Linked DNA regions of Homo sapiens: regions 1, 3, 4, 5 and 6 are each linked to region 2. Evidence: promoter capture Hi-C in 16 types of primary human blood cells and fetal thymus (Javierre and others, 2016). All regions are on one chromosome and are shown on one strand. Each heading gives the region's core, a stretch centred on a gene start or on the middle of the fragment in contact. The rest is flanking DNA. Distances are from core to core; before and after follow the strand shown. Region 1 overlaps PRG4 (proteoglycan 4). Region 2 holds the start of HMCN1 (hemicentin 1). Region 3 overlaps SWT1 (SWT1 RNA endoribonuclease homolog). Region 4 overlaps SWT1 (SWT1 RNA endoribonuclease homolog). Region 5 has its middle 42 kb from the start of PRG4. Region 6 has its middle 11 kb from the start of PRG4.

Evidence for each region. Contacts are between HindIII fragments. The CHiCAGO score rates a contact against its expected background, and 5 or more counts as called.
Region 1: a contact is called between a fragment that was not itself captured here and the fragment with the promoter of HMCN1 in region 2, in 1 of 17 cell types (M1 macrophages). The highest score is 5.3, in M1 macrophages.
Region 3: a fragment that was not itself captured here is called in contact with the fragment with the promoter of HMCN1 in region 2 in 4 of 17 cell types (monocytes, total CD8 T cells, neutrophils and 1 more); the score reaches 6.7 in monocytes.
Region 4: a fragment that was not itself captured here is called in contact with the fragment with the promoter of HMCN1 in region 2 in 1 of 17 cell types (neutrophils); the score reaches 7.2 in neutrophils.
Region 5: a fragment that was not itself captured here is called in contact with the fragment with the promoter of HMCN1 in region 2 in 1 of 17 cell types (endothelial precursors); the score reaches 6.1 in endothelial precursors.
Region 6: a fragment that was not itself captured here is called in contact with the fragment with the promoter of HMCN1 in region 2 in 1 of 17 cell types (M1 macrophages); the score reaches 5.7 in M1 macrophages.

The regions. Positions count from the first base shown.
Region 1 is chr1:186,304,496-186,307,195 of GRCh38, forward strand. PRG4 (proteoglycan 4) reads left to right here. Exons shown (of 13, transcript NM_005807.6): 6 at 299-427; 7 at 1,823-2,700. Among named protein-coding and RNA genes, the nearest start is that of PRG4, 9.6 kb to the left of the region's middle. The HindIII fragment of the contact is 6,802 bases long and covers 1-2,700 here.
Region 2 is chr1:185,732,770-185,735,701 of GRCh38, forward strand. HMCN1 (hemicentin 1) reads left to right here and starts at 1,622. Exons shown (of 107, transcript NM_031935.3): 1 at 1,622-2,278. The coding sequence starts at 2,011. The HindIII fragment of the contact is 13,332 bases long and covers 1-2,932 here.
Region 3 is chr1:185,183,464-185,186,372 of GRCh38, forward strand. It overlaps SWT1 (SWT1 RNA endoribonuclease homolog), which reads left to right. Exons shown (of 19, transcript NM_017673.7): 8 at 780-881; 9 at 1,280-1,468. Among named protein-coding and RNA genes, the nearest start is that of SWT1, 28 kb to the left of the region's middle. The HindIII fragment of the contact is 1,341 bases long and covers 801-2,141 here.
Region 4 is chr1:185,212,461-185,215,160 of GRCh38, forward strand. It overlaps SWT1 (SWT1 RNA endoribonuclease homolog), which reads left to right. Exons shown (of 19, transcript NM_017673.7): 14 at 2,047-2,195. Among named protein-coding and RNA genes, the nearest start is that of SWT1, 57 kb to the left of the region's middle. The HindIII fragment of the contact is 9,885 bases long and covers 1-2,700 here.
Region 5 is chr1:186,252,827-186,255,756 of GRCh38, forward strand. No RefSeq gene overlaps it. Among named protein-coding and RNA genes, the nearest start is that of PRG4, 42 kb to the right of the region's middle. The HindIII fragment of the contact is 1,606 bases long and covers 828-2,433 here.
Region 6 is chr1:186,283,500-186,286,363 of GRCh38, forward strand. No RefSeq gene overlaps it. Among named protein-coding and RNA genes, the nearest start is that of PRG4, 11 kb to the right of the region's middle. The HindIII fragment of the contact is 1,655 bases long and covers 549-2,203 here.

The DNA.
Region 1 (2,700 bases), core at 164-2,663, 570 kb after region 2:
AATCTTACTATAAAAAACAAAAACCACCCCATGATTTTCTTTGTAGAATAATTTGATTCTGTGTTTTGGAGGATATGGGAAAGTTGAGAGATACTAGTAATACTGCTAGTATCTGTGATAAGCCCAGGTGCCTTGCTTTTAACTGACAGATTAAAAGGCAGTTGGTCATATTACTAATAAAAGCAAAATCCAGATACTTGTAGACTAGTAAATAGCACTTCTTGCTGTGTTTAGACTGGTGGTTCTTTTTTGTTTTAAATCACAGTTGGTGTGATCAAACTTTCTATTTGATTTATAGAACATTCTGTTTCTGAAAATCAAGAGTCCTCCTCCTCCTCCTCCTCTTCCTCTTCTTCTTCAACAATTCGGAAAATCAAGTCTTCCAAAAATTCAGCTGCTAATAGAGAATTACAGAAGAAACTCAAAGGTTTGAGCATTGATAAAGATCAAAGACTGTATCAATGCCATATTAACAATGATTATATTTAAAAGTAATGCGTGTTGGCAGAATGAGGACATCTTAATATGGGGGGGAATATAACTTTATGAATATTATCTTAGAAAGTACCAAATGAATACTTCCTACAGGAAATTAGTGCCAAGCGGCTAAGAAGCCACTCTAAAAGCAAAGGATAAGAAGATGCTGTAGCAGGACTGTGGAACCACAAGATGGCACCAGAGATGATTATTGATGGCTTTCTACTGTCATTCTTGTTTACTTGACATCATTTTGCTTCTTCTCCTTCATCTTCCTTGCATTTTCATTTTCCCTTCCCCAGCTTTATTTTAACAAACATTTATATACTATTGTTCTAAGTGTTTTACAAGTATTAACTCATTAAATTCTTACAAACCTCTATGGAAAAAATATTATCCATATTTTACAAATCCTCTTTATTTTCCTAGTAACTTATATATTATATCTGGCTGACTTTTCCTCTAGTAGAGACTGTGCTACAGAATAGGCTATTATTGCCTGAAAAGAGATTTCCTTTGCTGTTTATTATTTCCTGAAGTTCTGGTTCTAAATATATATTCTCTTTCTCCAGGAAATACTGGATTTTTGGATAAGGGAGTTTTAAAGAACTCTAAGAGGTTGTGATTTCCTCCGAAGCATTCGCTCTAAATAAATAGCCAGGCATTTAATCTTTTAGTCACCCAGAAAATCGTGCAGGAAGCCACCCTTGGGCTTTGTAGTCCACATGTGGGGCAGCTGCTATGGGAAAGCCTTGATAAATACTGTCTTTTTGCTGCCCATCACACCCTAAGCTCCTCCTTATGTCCCCTGGGACCTGCAAGGTTAGCTGCGCAGAAGAAAAGGAGTGGCTAATAGCCCTATGTATGGGAACAAGGCTCAGCAGGGACTGTGGGGGTGACTGGGGCAGATTGCTCAGAGGTAGCTGTAGAGGCCTCTGAGATAATTGGTGCAGCAAGATGGTAGTACTAGGTTTCCAGGAGGAAGGAAGGGACACTGGGCACTGAAGAATAAGAGTACAAAAAGTAGGGGGTAAAGAACATTAATATAAACAGATGAATTAGTGTTATTTATCGTGTTGGTAATTTTGAACTTGCCACTGACTTCCATGTATTAATTGTATAGAGTTTTATTTGTGCTTTTTCATCCCTCATCTCATTTATTCCCTAAAACAGCCCAATAAGATAGGTTGAGTATTTGCCATTTTACAACAAATTAAAGGACATAGTAGAGATTAGCAATTTGCTTAGAAACACACAACTAGTCAATGATAAAGATGGGATCTTTATGTCACTATTAAAGAAAAAAAAATATTCTAAAATAACAAGATGTATATTTTTTCTCCAGTAAAAGATAACAAGAAGAACAGAACTAAAAAGAAACCTACCCCCAAACCACCAGTTGTAGATGAAGCTGGAAGTGGATTGGACAATGGTGACTTCAAGGTCACAACTCCTGACACGTCTACCACCCAACACAATAAAGTCAGCACATCTCCCAAGATCACAACAGCAAAACCAATAAATCCCAGACCCAGTCTTCCACCTAATTCTGATACATCTAAAGAGACGTCTTTGACAGTGAATAAAGAGACAACAGTTGAAACTAAAGAAACTACTACAACAAATAAACAGACTTCAACTGATGGAAAAGAGAAGACTACTTCCGCTAAAGAGACACAAAGTATAGAGAAAACATCTGCTAAAGATTTAGCACCCACATCTAAAGTGCTGGCTAAACCTACACCCAAAGCTGAAACTACAACCAAAGGCCCTGCTCTCACCACTCCCAAGGAGCCCACGCCCACCACTCCCAAGGAGCCTGCATCTACCACACCCAAAGAGCCCACACCTACCACCATCAAGTCTGCACCCACCACCCCCAAGGAGCCTGCACCCACCACCACCAAGTCTGCACCCACCACTCCCAAGGAGCCTGCACCCACCACCACCAAGGAGCCTGCACCCACCACTCCCAAGGAGCCTGCACCCACCACCACCAAGGAGCCTGCACCCACCACCACCAAGTCTGCACCCACCACTCCCAAGGAGCCTGCACCCACCACCCCCAAGAAGCCTGCCCCAACTACCCCCAAGGAGCCTGCACCCACCACTCCCAAGGAGCCTACACCCACCACTCCCAAGGAGCCTGCACCCACCACCAAGGAGCCTGCACCCACCACTCCCAAAGAGCCTGCACCCACTGCCCCCAAGAAGCCTGCCCCA
Region 2 (2,932 bases), core at 372-2,871:
CATGGAACATTTATAGATCATTTAATCCTTATTAGGTGGGTGCTATCATTATTCCCATTTACAGCTGAGTAAACACAGGTCTGAAAAAGTTTGGTAACCTTCTTGAAGGTCACACAGTTAAATGTCACAGCTGGGCTTTCAACCCAGGGTATCTGACCCAGAACTCTTAATCACTAGGCTCTGTGGCCTCCCTTGAGCACCTGGAATAGCTCAGGTCTCTAAGACTTAGAATGAAATCCTTTTTAAATAAACAACGGAATGGGAGACTCAAATAGCATTCTCTAAATACTGCTTGAGAAGGAAGTACCTTCCCCCTTTCCTCTCATATTCCCACTCAGCCCAAATGGCCTGTCTGCTTCCTTTAAGTGACATGACTTATAGGTATCATAAACTCGGGTTCCACAGCCGCTGGGACTGAAAGAGAAGACAGTTGTAGATTACAAAAGGTTGGTGGGAGCTAACTCTTCCTCAGGCTGCATCTCCGTTGGGTGGGCGGTCTAATATACATCCAAACAGAGATCAAGATGCCTGTTTGCCCCTCTTTAAATGCTGGGATCTGGACAACAACTCCTTTTCCAGGAAGGAAATGCGTTTTTATTAAAATGACATAAAGAATCCTTAGTTCATGGTAGACTTTCTTTGCTTATCCTCTTATCTCTGTTATTAGTACTATAACGTATATAGCAATCACAACACGGAAAAACGTTGGCATGTCTTCCAGGGTGAGGTTTCCTTCTTGACTGGCAAGAAAATGCCATAGAGGGGAGCACCTTTCCAATAGATCTTTGGCTGAGACCTGAGGCATGACTGTTCCAGGGGAGGAAATCTGAAACGGGGATATTATTCTGCCTTACTATGCTGAGCGTAGGATTCAAACTGCTCAGCAAATGTGAATCTTGATAATACAATTAAAAAATCAATTTTCTCTTTAATATGAATTTTATGTCTCATCTTTCCCCACACCTCTCTCGCCCCTCCTCCTTGTCCTTTCTACGGGGCTTCCATCCTGTATTCACATTCCCCTCTACAGTTAGTGACTACCTAGTTCTTGTCTCTCATTTCCCTCAGCAGCCCCTTTCCTCTTCCTGGGCTTCTTGCCCCTTCAGCGTTGTCCTCCCTTCCTTCCCTGCAGTCCAGAGTCTCAGAGGAGATCAAAGAGCGATAGTGTGGCTGCCTCGCAGCTGAGAGAATTTTCCAGCTCCCCCTCCTGGCTGGGCCGAGTTGTGGGCTGAGAGGCAGGAGGCTGGGCTGGGGCGTCTTGACTTTTGGGGGGAATTAGGAAAGAGGTGTCTAAAGCCGCGTTGTACACAATAGAAAAACAAAATTCCCTTTGTGCTAGTGTGGTGTCCCTCGGTTTGGGTCTTTGCCACACATTCTTGAAAGCCATTGTTTACACTAGCGTTTTGCAGGTTAGGAACGGTGCCGGTGGGAACCGAGCTGACACCGTAAGCGCTTCCCTGGGACTGAATTGACCCTACAATCAGTGGAGGGAAAAGTCACCCTCCGGGGGGGCCTCCAGAGCAAAGGAGGGAGGACGGCAACTGGCCAATCAGGAGGCGAGGCCGAGCCAGGCTTCCCCTCGTCGCTCGTGAGCTGCAAACAGTGGAAAGTTGGGAACCTCAGTCGCTGGCCCAGGCGGAGAGCAGCGGCGGCGGCGAGGGCAGCGGGATTCGGGCCGCGGCGCCGCAGGCTCAGAGCTGCCCCCGGGGCATGGACCCGACGCGCCGCCCGCACTCCGCCACAGGCTGTCCAGGGCCCGCGGGCAGATAGCAGTCCAGGAGGAAGCCGCATCCAGACAAAAGCTGCCGCATCCCTGCCCTGCCCAACCCCTGGAGGGATTCGAGTTTGGTGCTTGTCCCCGTCTGATTCTCAGCGCCAAACTTTTTGCTAGTTCAGAGATTCCAAGAGTCTGATGAGTTACTCTGAGAGGAAACCCTCTGCCTGTTGTTGAGGAGGACTGAGCACAGTGCTTAGGCGCTGAGGGGGAAAAAGAGGGGGAAAAAAAAGAAAATGATTTCCTGGGAAGTTGTCCATACAGTATTCCTGTTTGCTCTTCTTTATTCTTCCCTAGCTCAAGATGCGAGCCCCCAGTCAGAGATCAGAGCTGAGGAAATTCCCGAGGGGGCCTCCACGTTGGCTTTTGTGTTTGATGTGACTGGTTCTATGTATGATGATTTAGTTCAGGTGATTGAAGGGGCTTCCAAAATTTTGGAGACGTCTTTGAAAAGACCTAAAAGACCTCTTTTCAACTTTGCGTTGGTGCCTTTCCATGATCCAGGTAAGGGAAATATTTATACTTTGTCTTTGCTATGTCTCATGATTACATTATTTCTCATGCTGTGAATGAAATTGTTTGTCAGGAAGTTTCAAAACCATTTTAAAAAAATGTGCAGCTGAAAATAGTTGTAACAAAGAATTACTTGCTGGCGTCTGGGTTTGCTCATTGATACCTACTTAAGTCTCAGCCCTGGTGGAGATGGCTTGTTTAGGGAACTTGTACTGTGGTCCTCAAACCTGGAAATGTGGAGTTACGAAAAACAAAACCAAAAATCTTGGGCAACGACATCAAAATCACTTAACTCACTTAGATTTTAGAACTAAAGCATGTTTAATTACGAAGGCAGACTTGGACACGAATTTATAGCAGCGAAGCTCTAGGGGCTAACATCCAGATTGAAAGCACACTCTGAGGGTAACTCTCATTTAAGAGGGGAAAAAACCTGTTGTGTGAGACACAAGGAAGCCTGTAAGTAGTAACTACTAGTGGAACTGAAGACATGAAAAGAAAAGAGAGAAACCAATCATTTCTTAACTGAATCTATTCATCTTTGCACCAGGGCATCATTAGATAGGTTCACAGATGGGTATAAACATTACATCCATGTCTCCTGCGGTAGAATTGCTTGTAATTCGGAATGTCTGTGCTTTTTAA
Region 3 (2,909 bases), core at 221-2,720, 550 kb before region 2:
GTAGAGCTGGAGTTCCACTGTGTTGGCCAGGCTGATCTCGAACTCCTGACCTCAGGTGATTGGCCCGCCTCGGCCTCTCAAAGTGCTGGGATTACAGGCGTGAGCCACCAAGCCCAGCATGTATTTTCTTTTACACATATTCATCTTTCAATTATATTCACTCAGGATATGTTAAAATTAGCTTATAATTACTAAGTGCACAACTACCGGTGATCCATGACAGAAGTTAGAAACATAATTACTCCCCAGGCAAGTCAGTTCATAATTTAAAATCCACCTACAAGCAATTTATAGTATTCTACTGGTGGGTGATTAAACATTGATTACTATTCTTTCTCTTAAGAATCGAAGTAAAAGCAATTTTGTTTTTATTGTCTAAAGGACTTCTCTTAAGAATGCTCTCAAAAACATTCTCCATGGCTGGTTTTTCACAGTCTTGGCCCCAGGTTTCCCGTGTATTTCTGCTTTGCCAACCCTTACCTTCTCTGCCCACTTTGACTTAGACGATTCTCCACCCCACTCCCACTCCAAACAGGGGTTGCAATTCCTATCCAGAGGACCTTAATTGATTGGGGAGAAATTTACTTGGCAACAAGGATACGGGCCGGATAGATATCAGCTTGAGAGTCTAGCCAACTGTGTAAATCTCTGATACAGTTAACAAGACAAAGAGGCGTTTTAAATTTAATTGAATTTTCAATGCTTCTGTAATATCAAAATTTTAGTCATTATATAAGTCTGTTATCAAGTGTCATGAAATATTTGCTCTTTTTCTTTAGCAAATAATACTTCAGACAGAAAGCTTCTAATTGTTATTGACACAAATATTCTGATGAATCATCTCAAATTTGTTAGAATTTTGAAGACAACAGAAGTACCAGGTATTTACAGAACATATTTAAAGATTCTGATTTTCTTCCTTGAGTTGATATTTTATATTAACAATGATGGGCTTTTTTTGCCATGAACATGTCTCCATTTAGATATGCTATATATTAAGCATATTCAGTGTTATAAGTTTATAAAAGCCTTTACAGGTTAAACTAGCAATCTGAACTCACTCTTTTTTTGATCTCCAAGAGTAATTATTTTTTTAACATTCTTTTGACACGTTATTTTCTTTTTAATTTCCATTTTATAATATATTGTCTCTCAATTTATTGTGAATTTCCTAAAGGTAGGGACTGTGTGCTTTAAAACTTTTACCTCTTGGACAGCAATTCCATTTAGTAGCTCAATAAATGTTTGTTAAATTCTAAGAAATCTTTTTATTTTTTAGGTTTTGACAAACTTGTGTTAATAATTCCCTGGGTCGTTATGCAAGAGCTAGATCGTATGAAGGAAGGAAAACTACTAAAACGTGCCCAGCACAAAGCTATACCTGCAGTTCATTTCATCAACGACAGTCTCAAAAATCAAGATAGAAAGCTATGGGGTCAGTCAATACAACTTGCATCCCAAAAACATTGTAAGTATTGTTCTCTCAGAGTGCCTCCTGATTAATACTTGTTTGGGTGCAGACTCATTATTGGAGGGAAATGGTGCAAAACTTTTAAAACATTTAAACCCATTGGAATGTGAAATGGAAGGGGCATTGTGATGGTTTGTGGCTTAGTTTAGGAGTCTTTGACTTTTATTTTTCTGCTTCTCCTAGACGTTTTTACATTATGTCTATATTTCACAGATAGTGACTGTATAGTTGTGTATGCATAATTATCTATATCCCAGAACCTTGGACTCCTTTTTTAAAAATACCATTGCTGAGTGATGAAGTCTGTAAGTGATCTAGGTTTCTAGTCTGTTAATATCACCATATGCAGTTAATGTACTGTGGAGACGATGTTGCTTTCCTGTGGTTTGTCAGAATCGGTAATAATGAATGAGGTGTTTTTACAATAAAGTAGTGTATAGATTTTCCCCTCATTTAATTTTTTTCAATATTAGTTTCTATTAAGGCATTTAAAAAATTGCTTTAGTCTTAGAAGCTAAGGATGTTCTTTATGTTTTATATAATTTGCTGGAAAAATATCTATATATAAAGGAACACTTATTTCTGTGGAGTTTATACATATATATTTAGAAGATTTATTTCATTCTTTCAGAATTTGTTTCTTCCCAGCTCAGAATTATTTATATATGTAAGCTTACATTATTTTAAATACCACGGATTTGTACTGTCCACTGCACCCATATTCACCGTAAGATTTGAAAGAATTCATCTTAAGAGGAATCCAATTATGGTATTAACTATGAGAAGGCTTTAAAAGCCATGATTAGATTCATCTTAAGATGAATTACTTTAGTCTAAAATTTTTGTTTAGTCTTAAAATTTTGAAGAAAAAGGGTCTCTACCATTCATTCATTGTCTAAACAAATATTTATTAGTTCTTAGTATATTCCAGATATAATGCTTATGAATTTTGAGTGAAGATGGTCCATGTCAAGTAGCTTTAGTTGACTATAATTTTAGCCTTGTCCTTAACTATTTGCAAAATTATATTTATTTGATATAGTATTGATCTATTATAGTGAGAGGAACATAGGATTTGAAATATGATCAACCTGGGTTTATAGCATAACCCGGGGGAAGTTAAAGGTGAAGAAACTGAATAAATGAAATGAGAGGAAATAAATTCCACGTCATAAAATGGTTGTGAAGATTGGTTGAGTTAATATATTAAACTAATAGCTTATGGTTCAGAATAGGCAGTAATTCTCTTGTGTCCTCATTATATGAAAAGCTTATGCAGATTGATAAGACTCATCTATCTTTTTTTTAAATATCTGATTTATTTTTATCACTTCTAAGTTTAGAAAGTTACTCTCTCCCAACCCACTAGGAAGATTCACAGCACTGCATGGCTTTAAGACTATGAATTGGTAACTTTGTAGAAGAGCAGTATTTAGCA
Region 4 (2,700 bases), core at 98-2,597, 520 kb before region 2:
TGTATCTTCTGCTGAAAAATCAGTTTTGTGATCATTATAGTTTATTGGTCTTTGATCTCGAAGAATCTGATGCCTAACGTTTAATGAGTTATGAAGAATATGTCATGGGATTATAAAAGTACCTCTTGCCAGGAGTTCATTGCCAGCGTGGCCAACATGGTGAAACCCTGTCTTTACTAAAAATCCAAAAAAAATAGCTGGGCGTGGTGGTGGGTGCCTATAATCCCAGCTACTCGGGAGGCTGAGGGAGGAGAATCACTTGAACCCGGGAGGTGGAGGTTGCAGTGAGCCGAGATTGCGCCATTGCACTCCAGCCTGGGCAACAAGAGTGAAACTCTGTCTCAAAAAAAAAAAAAAACTTCTTGCTGTAAGATAATTTTGAATGAGAAAAATCACAGTTTATGTTCTTGTGTACTATCTTTTAATAATACCTTCAGCTGTTGAATTATATATTTGTTTAACTTGAGAATACCACGCATGTATCCTTAGATTAGTTCATAGAAAATTGTGTGGAAAATGACTAGTAACTTTTATGACTTTGTTACCCATATTAGCTTTAAATAATTATTGGCCTTATATAAGCATTAGACTATTTCATTCATGTAGATTTCTTTTTTTGTTGTGTCTGTATACTGGATTTATTATTGTTATTACCCTTTTCCTCATAATCTTAGGAACTTTTGTAAGACAGAAATAAAATGATTAATTCATATATGTAAGCCTCATTAAACATATGTTACATTGGAAAAGCACCCTTAAAAGAAGTTGTGTCCAATTATATCTTCCTCAGGGGATTTACGTAGTTCATCACATCTACAGTCTGTCCTGTGTGTAGCATCTCTCATTACCCACAGGAATTTAAACTAGTCATTGGCTTTAAAAAGAAATGAAAGTTTTCCTGTAAGGAAATACATTGGCTTGCTTTATTATTATTTTTTATATTTTTGGATAAAGGAGAAGCCAGAGGCTTGGCTACAACCATTACATTAGATTAGAGTTTCTGAATATTGTGGAATTAATTATTAAGATATAGTTTTTATTTCACTTGACCCTTCAGGATTTCACAAGCAAGTTCTTGTGTAAGTGATACAGAGAAACTCCTTATTGTTTTTTAAACTCATAGTGCCATTGAACAGCCATGCTGATATTTCAGAATACAATAGAGTCTCTGAAACTGTGAACATTAAAACAAAAAGTAAACAACAGTATAGCATGGTTATTTTGAAAACTGTTAGGTAGCATTCTGCTTTAATAATGGAAATAATTTTTTCTGTTCTGAGTTTTATGATATTACTTAATTTTATTGTTTATAACTTTTGAAATTTTTGAAATTATTGTCACCAGCTTTCCCAACTAGTTTGAGAAGTTAATGTAATTAGTTTTAGTTCCTTGAGATAAAATTGTTATACCTTTAAATTATTGTTTGTAGATTTTCTCACTTTTAATTTACAGGAAAAAAATTCTGCAGGCTTCTTTTGCTTCTCACTGTTGCCCAAACTTTTTTTCTCTCCTGAAGTTGTGTTGTACATATAGAGATAACTCATAGTTTTCAATAAACATAGTATTGAGTTTCATGCAATGGAGTTGAAGATAAATCACTATGTAGATAGCTGAGGTGATGACGAGAGGTACCATATATAACTGACATGCTTACCAGTGTAGTCTCACTCTTCTGATCTCTCCACAGTACTCTTATGTGAAATCACCTCAGCATTGAAATCTGTGGTTTGACTTGTTTCTTTGGTGATTTTCTCTTTTTTCTGGGGAGTGTAATATTCTTTAACTTTACTTTTACTTTGAAGTTGACCGTGCTGACAGAACTCCTGAAATCTGAATTCAGAATACCAGAATCAACTCAAAGGACTTTATCTATAACTAAATCTATTTAATTATTGCTTTTTGTACCAGAGGGATAACTTAGGAGTGGCATATAGGTATAAATGTATACTCTTTTTAAATTTCAAAATTAATATTAGTGTTCCAAAGACATTTTTATGATGTATACTCATTCTTCCATATTTTTCTGTCTTAATTTTCTGTTACCAGCTAATAAGGCAGTGGATTTTACAACAGTCAAATTCTTGCTTCAGGATTCTAGAAGTTTGTTACATGCTTTCAGTACAAGGTCAAATTATGATGGTATTCTTCCACAGACCTTTGCTCAAGTAAACAACCTCCTTCAGACATTTGCAGAGGTAAGATGCCTTTGGAATGCCAGTTAGAGTAGCTAATTATACATGTTCTGAAAATGTGTTTAGCAGACAACAGTAGGTAAAGGATAATTTAATTCTAACTTATTCTAACATACTAAAGGCGTTAAGTAAATGTTAAGTGAATTGAATACAGAGTAAGCAACTCTAACAAGTTATAAAACCCATACCTCCTTTTATGGAAGCAGTGTCACAGCAGTTGTTCTTATTTTATATTATTTTCACTTATGGATGGAAGAAAGCTATGCATGCTATTTGACTGTTCATTTACAGTGCCCTAGGCCAGTGGATCTCACATACATCAAAAATACCTAGGAAATTGTTTTAAACATACAGATGTCAACACTGTCTGAAACCCTATTGAATCTATTTTTTGACAGTGTTACTTGGTAATGTTGTTGTCCTTGTTTTACTTTTTATTTTGAAATAATTTCAAACTTATAAAATGGTTACAAGAGCAGTACAAAGAATTCCCATATATATTATTTAC
Region 5 (2,930 bases), core at 381-2,880, 520 kb after region 2:
TTCAAATGTTTTAATCTCACACAGCTCAAACTTTTCTTTGTTAGTTATTTGTAGATTCATATAATGCTATTGAATGACAATCTATAGTATTATGGCTTATCAATATCAAGAAGGCAAAGTATATTTATACACTCATATACCTGAGGAAACAACCTGCACTCCTTAAATTCAAGTAGAGAACATTTTAAATAACATTTTATGTGGCAAAGTCATAAGAGGCTGTCTACAGTGTGCTTCCTGTTATCTTCTCCCCTCTTCTTCTGATGCCTTTCCCCATCTCCACCTGGTTTATTCTTTTTTTAAATTTTTTTATTTTTATTTTATTTTATTTTTTTTTTTTGAGACAGGGTCTTGCTTTTTCACCCACACTGGAGTGCAACCAGCTCACTGCAACCTCTATCTCCCGGGTTCAAGCGATTCTCCTGCCTCACCCTCCTGAGTAGCTGGGATTACATGCACCCGCCACCATGCCCGGCTAATTTTTGTATTTTTAGTAGAGACAGGGTTTCACCTTCTGTCTTCTACAATATCAACCTTGAAATTGTTTTTCCTCAATGCCCTTTATAATCCTATTTTCTCAACTGCCTAGTATATACGTCTGCTACAATACCAAGACCCAAAATATTTTGATTCCCAAATCGCACACCGTATGTTGTCATATCCATAGGAGTGTTCCCTGTGCTTCCTTCTCTCATAGCTGCATCAAACATGTTTACTTACCTATGTCAAAGAATTATTGATTATTGATATTCAAGGCACTGTGGTAGGGACAGGAGAGTCAGGGATAAAGAAAATAGTCTCTATCTGAAGACCCCTTGAGGAATTAAAGCTTTTATAGCTAATACTCAATGTTTTTTAATTACATGAATAAATACATTTATTTGGAAACTAAATAGAATCACTATAATCACAGAGTTACTCGTAAAAACTGAACTTTGGTGATTATAAGACTGCCAGAATCACTTACTGTTTGTTCTAGCCAATACCTGGAGATTTGGCCTCTGTTTCCCCATCTCTGTGGGAGAGCAGGAGCCACATTTCAACAAGTGCCAGTTAGCAAACCCAGATGGGTTTCACATGCACCAACCCCCCTTCCCACTTACTGTAATTGTTCACTTCCCTAATTCTGCTAAACCCCTGACATTCCCTCTCCCTATTCCCTCATTCTTTCTTTAAAATACCCAATCACCCCTGCATACATCGGAATGGAGCTGGGCTCTTTCCCCAACACTCAGTGGTTATTGAATAAAATCTGTATTCACTGCTTTAATGTCCAGCTGTGTTTATTTTTGACAGTGGTTCAATATAAAAATCATGAGGGTCCTTACAAGAACAGTGAGGCAGGAAGGTCAAAGAACAGATGTGATGACTGAAGCAGAGGTCAGAGTGGATGCAGCCAGGAGGTGAGGAATGTAGGCAGCTCTAGAAACTGGAAAAGGCATGGAAACTTTTCTCCCCCAGAGCCTGAAGAGGGAACTCAACCCTGCAGACACCTTGATGTTCGCCCTAGAAGATCCATTTCTGACCTCTGACCTTCAAAACGTCAATTTACTAAGATAATAAATTTGCATTATTTTAAGCCAATAAATTTGTGGTAATTTGTTACAACAGCAATAGGAAACTAACACACCACCCATGCTACATGATTAGCTCAACAAAAATATCATATAACCACCCACAAGATAAGATTAAATTGGACTTTGGTGACCATGGAAGACCATGAACATGTAGCGGAGTGGCATCAACTTTTTTTAAAAAGAATATGTCTTCGAGCAGATCCATGATTCAAAATCAAATACCTTTCTTTGGGAACGTGTAATACACATCAAATGCTAGAGCCCTTACAAAAGACTGAGTAGACCTTCTTGCCAAGCATTTAAAAGTGTTAAATCATGATCACTTTCCACAGCACTTTTAACCAGCCTTATTCATCTTTACTGAACTTCATTCATTTCACAGTTTTTAAAGGAAAAATTTTGGCTATAGGATAATGCACTCAATTAGCTCTGCTCATAGGAACAGAATAACACAATTACCTACTGTAAAACCACTACCAGCTTCTTATGAAACCTTCAAAAATTTGCTCATATTTGCTTGGTGTGCTTACCCCGAAGGGAAACAATGATGGGCTATTCTCCCAGAAACAGTGTAGAAATCGGGCAGGTAGAGGTCAGCAATTACATGTTGCCTCTATGTGGAGACCAGATGTGATTTCTATTTGGTAAATTAAGTTTCTCTCTCTGGAGTTTAGAGTGACTAAAGATGGTTCAATTTCAAACTGCTTTTTATTGTTGTTTCTTTGTCTTTAATCCCAAGAGGCAAAAATATAACCAATTTCACCCCAGTTTCTTTCCTATTTTTTAACTTACTGTTTTGATAGCTTCCCATAGTTAATGTCTTTCTTAATATTATGTAAAATATGCCTCTGTTCCAAGCTTCCCCAGTCATTAAGATGGCTCTTAACATTCCCGTTAATATGATATTTCTCTAATGTCCTTAACTGTATACTTTATAATCTCTAATAGTAATACCGGTTTCTCACAAAGCCGTTTCCCTGAGGCACACTTAATATAATCAGATTGGGCCCATTTGTATTCTGCTGCATTTTTGCCTTCCACATCTAAGGAAATAACTGGAAAATCACTTATATTCAGGGCACTTCCTGATGTTGGTCTAGGTTCAGGGATATTAACAATTCAAACTGCATGAACACTTGCAGTAAGGGAAATGGAAATTATATTTTTCTGGGAACTCATGTTTTGTCACCATTAAATCATACTATGAAATGATTTCAGGTTGGAAAGATTCCATTTCTGCTACGTTGGCTTCACAGCTTCAACTGGGCATTTTCCTTCTAACTATAAACATCCTTTAGCTTAGTTTAAATTTAAATTAATTTCAGTGGGAAAGCAGGTAAAGAAAAATATTAT
Region 6 (2,864 bases), core at 126-2,625, 550 kb after region 2:
CAAAACGGGGAAGTTGAGGATCAGTTTCGGATAACTAAGCTACTCACAGCTTGATGTAAGGGGATTTTCCACTCAGCAGCCTCTTTTTACCAAGTGCCACAGGCACTTCATAAAATTACTCACCAGAGATGGGAGTGTTTTTCTATTTTATCTCAAGGGTGTACTCCAGAAGAAAATTCAATTTATGTTTTACTAGTTTTGTAAGATTTCTGTTTTAGTCAGGCTATGCTAACTGCCATTTAAGAAAAAAATAACTCCTCTCATATTTTTAATACACAATTAAAGTTTATTTATGCTTCATGGCACAGTCCAATGCAGGGAAGAGGAGAGGGGAGCCTCTGGTTGATGGTCATCCATGGATCCAGACTTCTCCCATGAAGTGGCTCTGCCATCATCTAGGGCACTGGAGTCCTCCACTTCATCCAAAATAAAAGAGGTGTACATCACTTCTGCCCACAATCCATTACACAATCATGTGGCCCCCGCCCCAATTATATAGAATGCTGGTAAATGCAATCCAACTGTGTGCCCAGGACAAAGAGAACACAAGCTTTCTCTTCCTCAATTTCCATGCTAAAACTTAAACTAACAGATGCTACATTTTAAATTTATTTCAGTGATGTTTCTGTGACAGTTGTTTCCTTACTCTTTCCTCCCCAGGTTTGTTTGTAGGCTATCATTTGGATATTGATTGGAGATTGTCCTAATTTTTACATTCATATCATTAACATGTTTAATCTACTTGCTGTCTTAGTCAATTTGAGATGTTATAACAAAGTACTGTATATTGGGTGGCATATAAACGATAGAAATTTATTTCTCACAGCTCTGGAAGCTGGAAGTTTCCAATGAGGGTGCCAGTAGAGTTGGCCTCTGGTGAGGGACCTCTTCCAAGCTGCAGACTACTGACTTCTTTTTGTATCTTTAGATGGTGGGAGCAGGGGTAGAGAACTCTCTGAGGTCTCTTTTCCATTAGTGGGCACACTAATCCCATTCATAAGAGCTCCACCATCACAACCTAAATTACCTCCAAAGGCCCCAGCTCCCAATACCATTATACTGGGAGTTAGGATTTCAGCATATGAATTTGGAGGGGGGACATGAACATTGAATCCATTATATTTGCTTTCTCAAAAACCACTGTTGGTACAAATTTTATATGACAGACAAGAAGATGAATGGTATTAATAAAACGTATCTGAACATATCTCCTACGTCTATTTTATTTCCTCCCAGAGAATTTATTTTATTGAAGCATTTGAATTACACACTACTTTATAGAACAATTATGTGACTCAAGAGACTCTTATTAGATCTAAGCCATAAATTGAGTTTTAAACTTTATAGTGGCCAATATGAATAGTTAAGTGTTATTTTATCATATATACATCCTAATTATTTATCATTATAATCACTGTCATAAAATATTTGGGTCAGCTATGGAGAATGGAGGAGAGAACCAGTGAGTTAGCAGGTGTTCCTGAAAAACAACAACAAAAATCCCCTTTGTACTTCTTCAGAAATTGTCACAAAAGTTAAAAAACATAAAAATGCTGTATTTACAGATTATAATTATTGTTTAAAAACATTGAAGGTGCTCAGCTTTATTCACATCAAGGTTTGATCTGGGGGTTGGATGGGGTAGAGGGGCAAGTAGAGAGAATCTAGTTGAGATTGAGATTCTGTGATATTTTATGATATACCAGTGAACTGTTGTGATTCCAACCTGGATCTTTCCTTCTCTACCATTTTCTATGACAGAATGCCATACTCTTCCATATGATAATCTGTTAAGTCTCTGAAGATAGTCATTTTACCATGAAATTTGACGGCACACCAAATAACTCTTCAACTCATGTAATTAAAAGAACACCAATAATAAAAGCTAACTTTTGCTGAGTATATATTATGCAGCTAGTATTCTTCTAAGTGCTTTAGATGCATTAACCTGTGTGGATCATTACAACATCCTTCCACAATAGGTATTCTTGGCCAGAGTGGCTACATAATTTACCTAGGTTCACATAGCTAGTGATTGACAAAGCCTACACTTGAGTTACTTTGTTATATGATTTTCCATATAATAGTCTTTTTACCCACAGGAGAATTTTTCAACAGCTTTCAAAGTTTATGATAGTACACCAATTAGATTATGAATACACATTTTCCCATTAGTCCATGGTATATCAAAATGCCTTTTTAAAGCTTGTGTGGAACAAGACAAATGCCTCGTGTTATTCTGTTGATTTTTACTAAATATGCTGAAATATTAGGTATCATACAGTATATTTAAATTTATACACTGTTCTATTGTATCTGGATTTGCCTCCAAACTTTATATTCCTGTGCCCTATTTTATGATGATATAAGTAATAGTCTAGTAGTCAAGAAACTACTCACATCTACTAAATCTCTGCTTAATGTTGAATTGGTCCAAAGCAAGGCATGGCTCCCTTTCCCAGAGTTTAAAATCAAGATGTGAAGCCTAGCTTAGGCTTCATGATAAAGGTTGAAGCTATGATAAAGGTTGATGCAATTGCAGTTATGAGTTTCCATGCTGTTTTTTTAAATATATTTTTCTCATCCTTAATCAGATAATTTTTTTAATATCTAAAAAAGAAAAGGAAAAGTATTAAAAAATTCAGATTACATATGAGAAAAAATAGCCCCAGTCCTGAGCTGGGGCAGAAGTTTTAGAACTGACGTGATTAGCCAGCTGTTCCTCCTAAGCTGGAAGGGTGGCCCTTGCAGGGTGTCGGATTGAACGTCTTGTAGATGGCGCGCCACCTGGTCAGGCCTTGGTGTGTGCTCACTTCCTTGTCCTGTACCCTTTGGTCCCATTTCTATCCCAAGGTAACTACCAG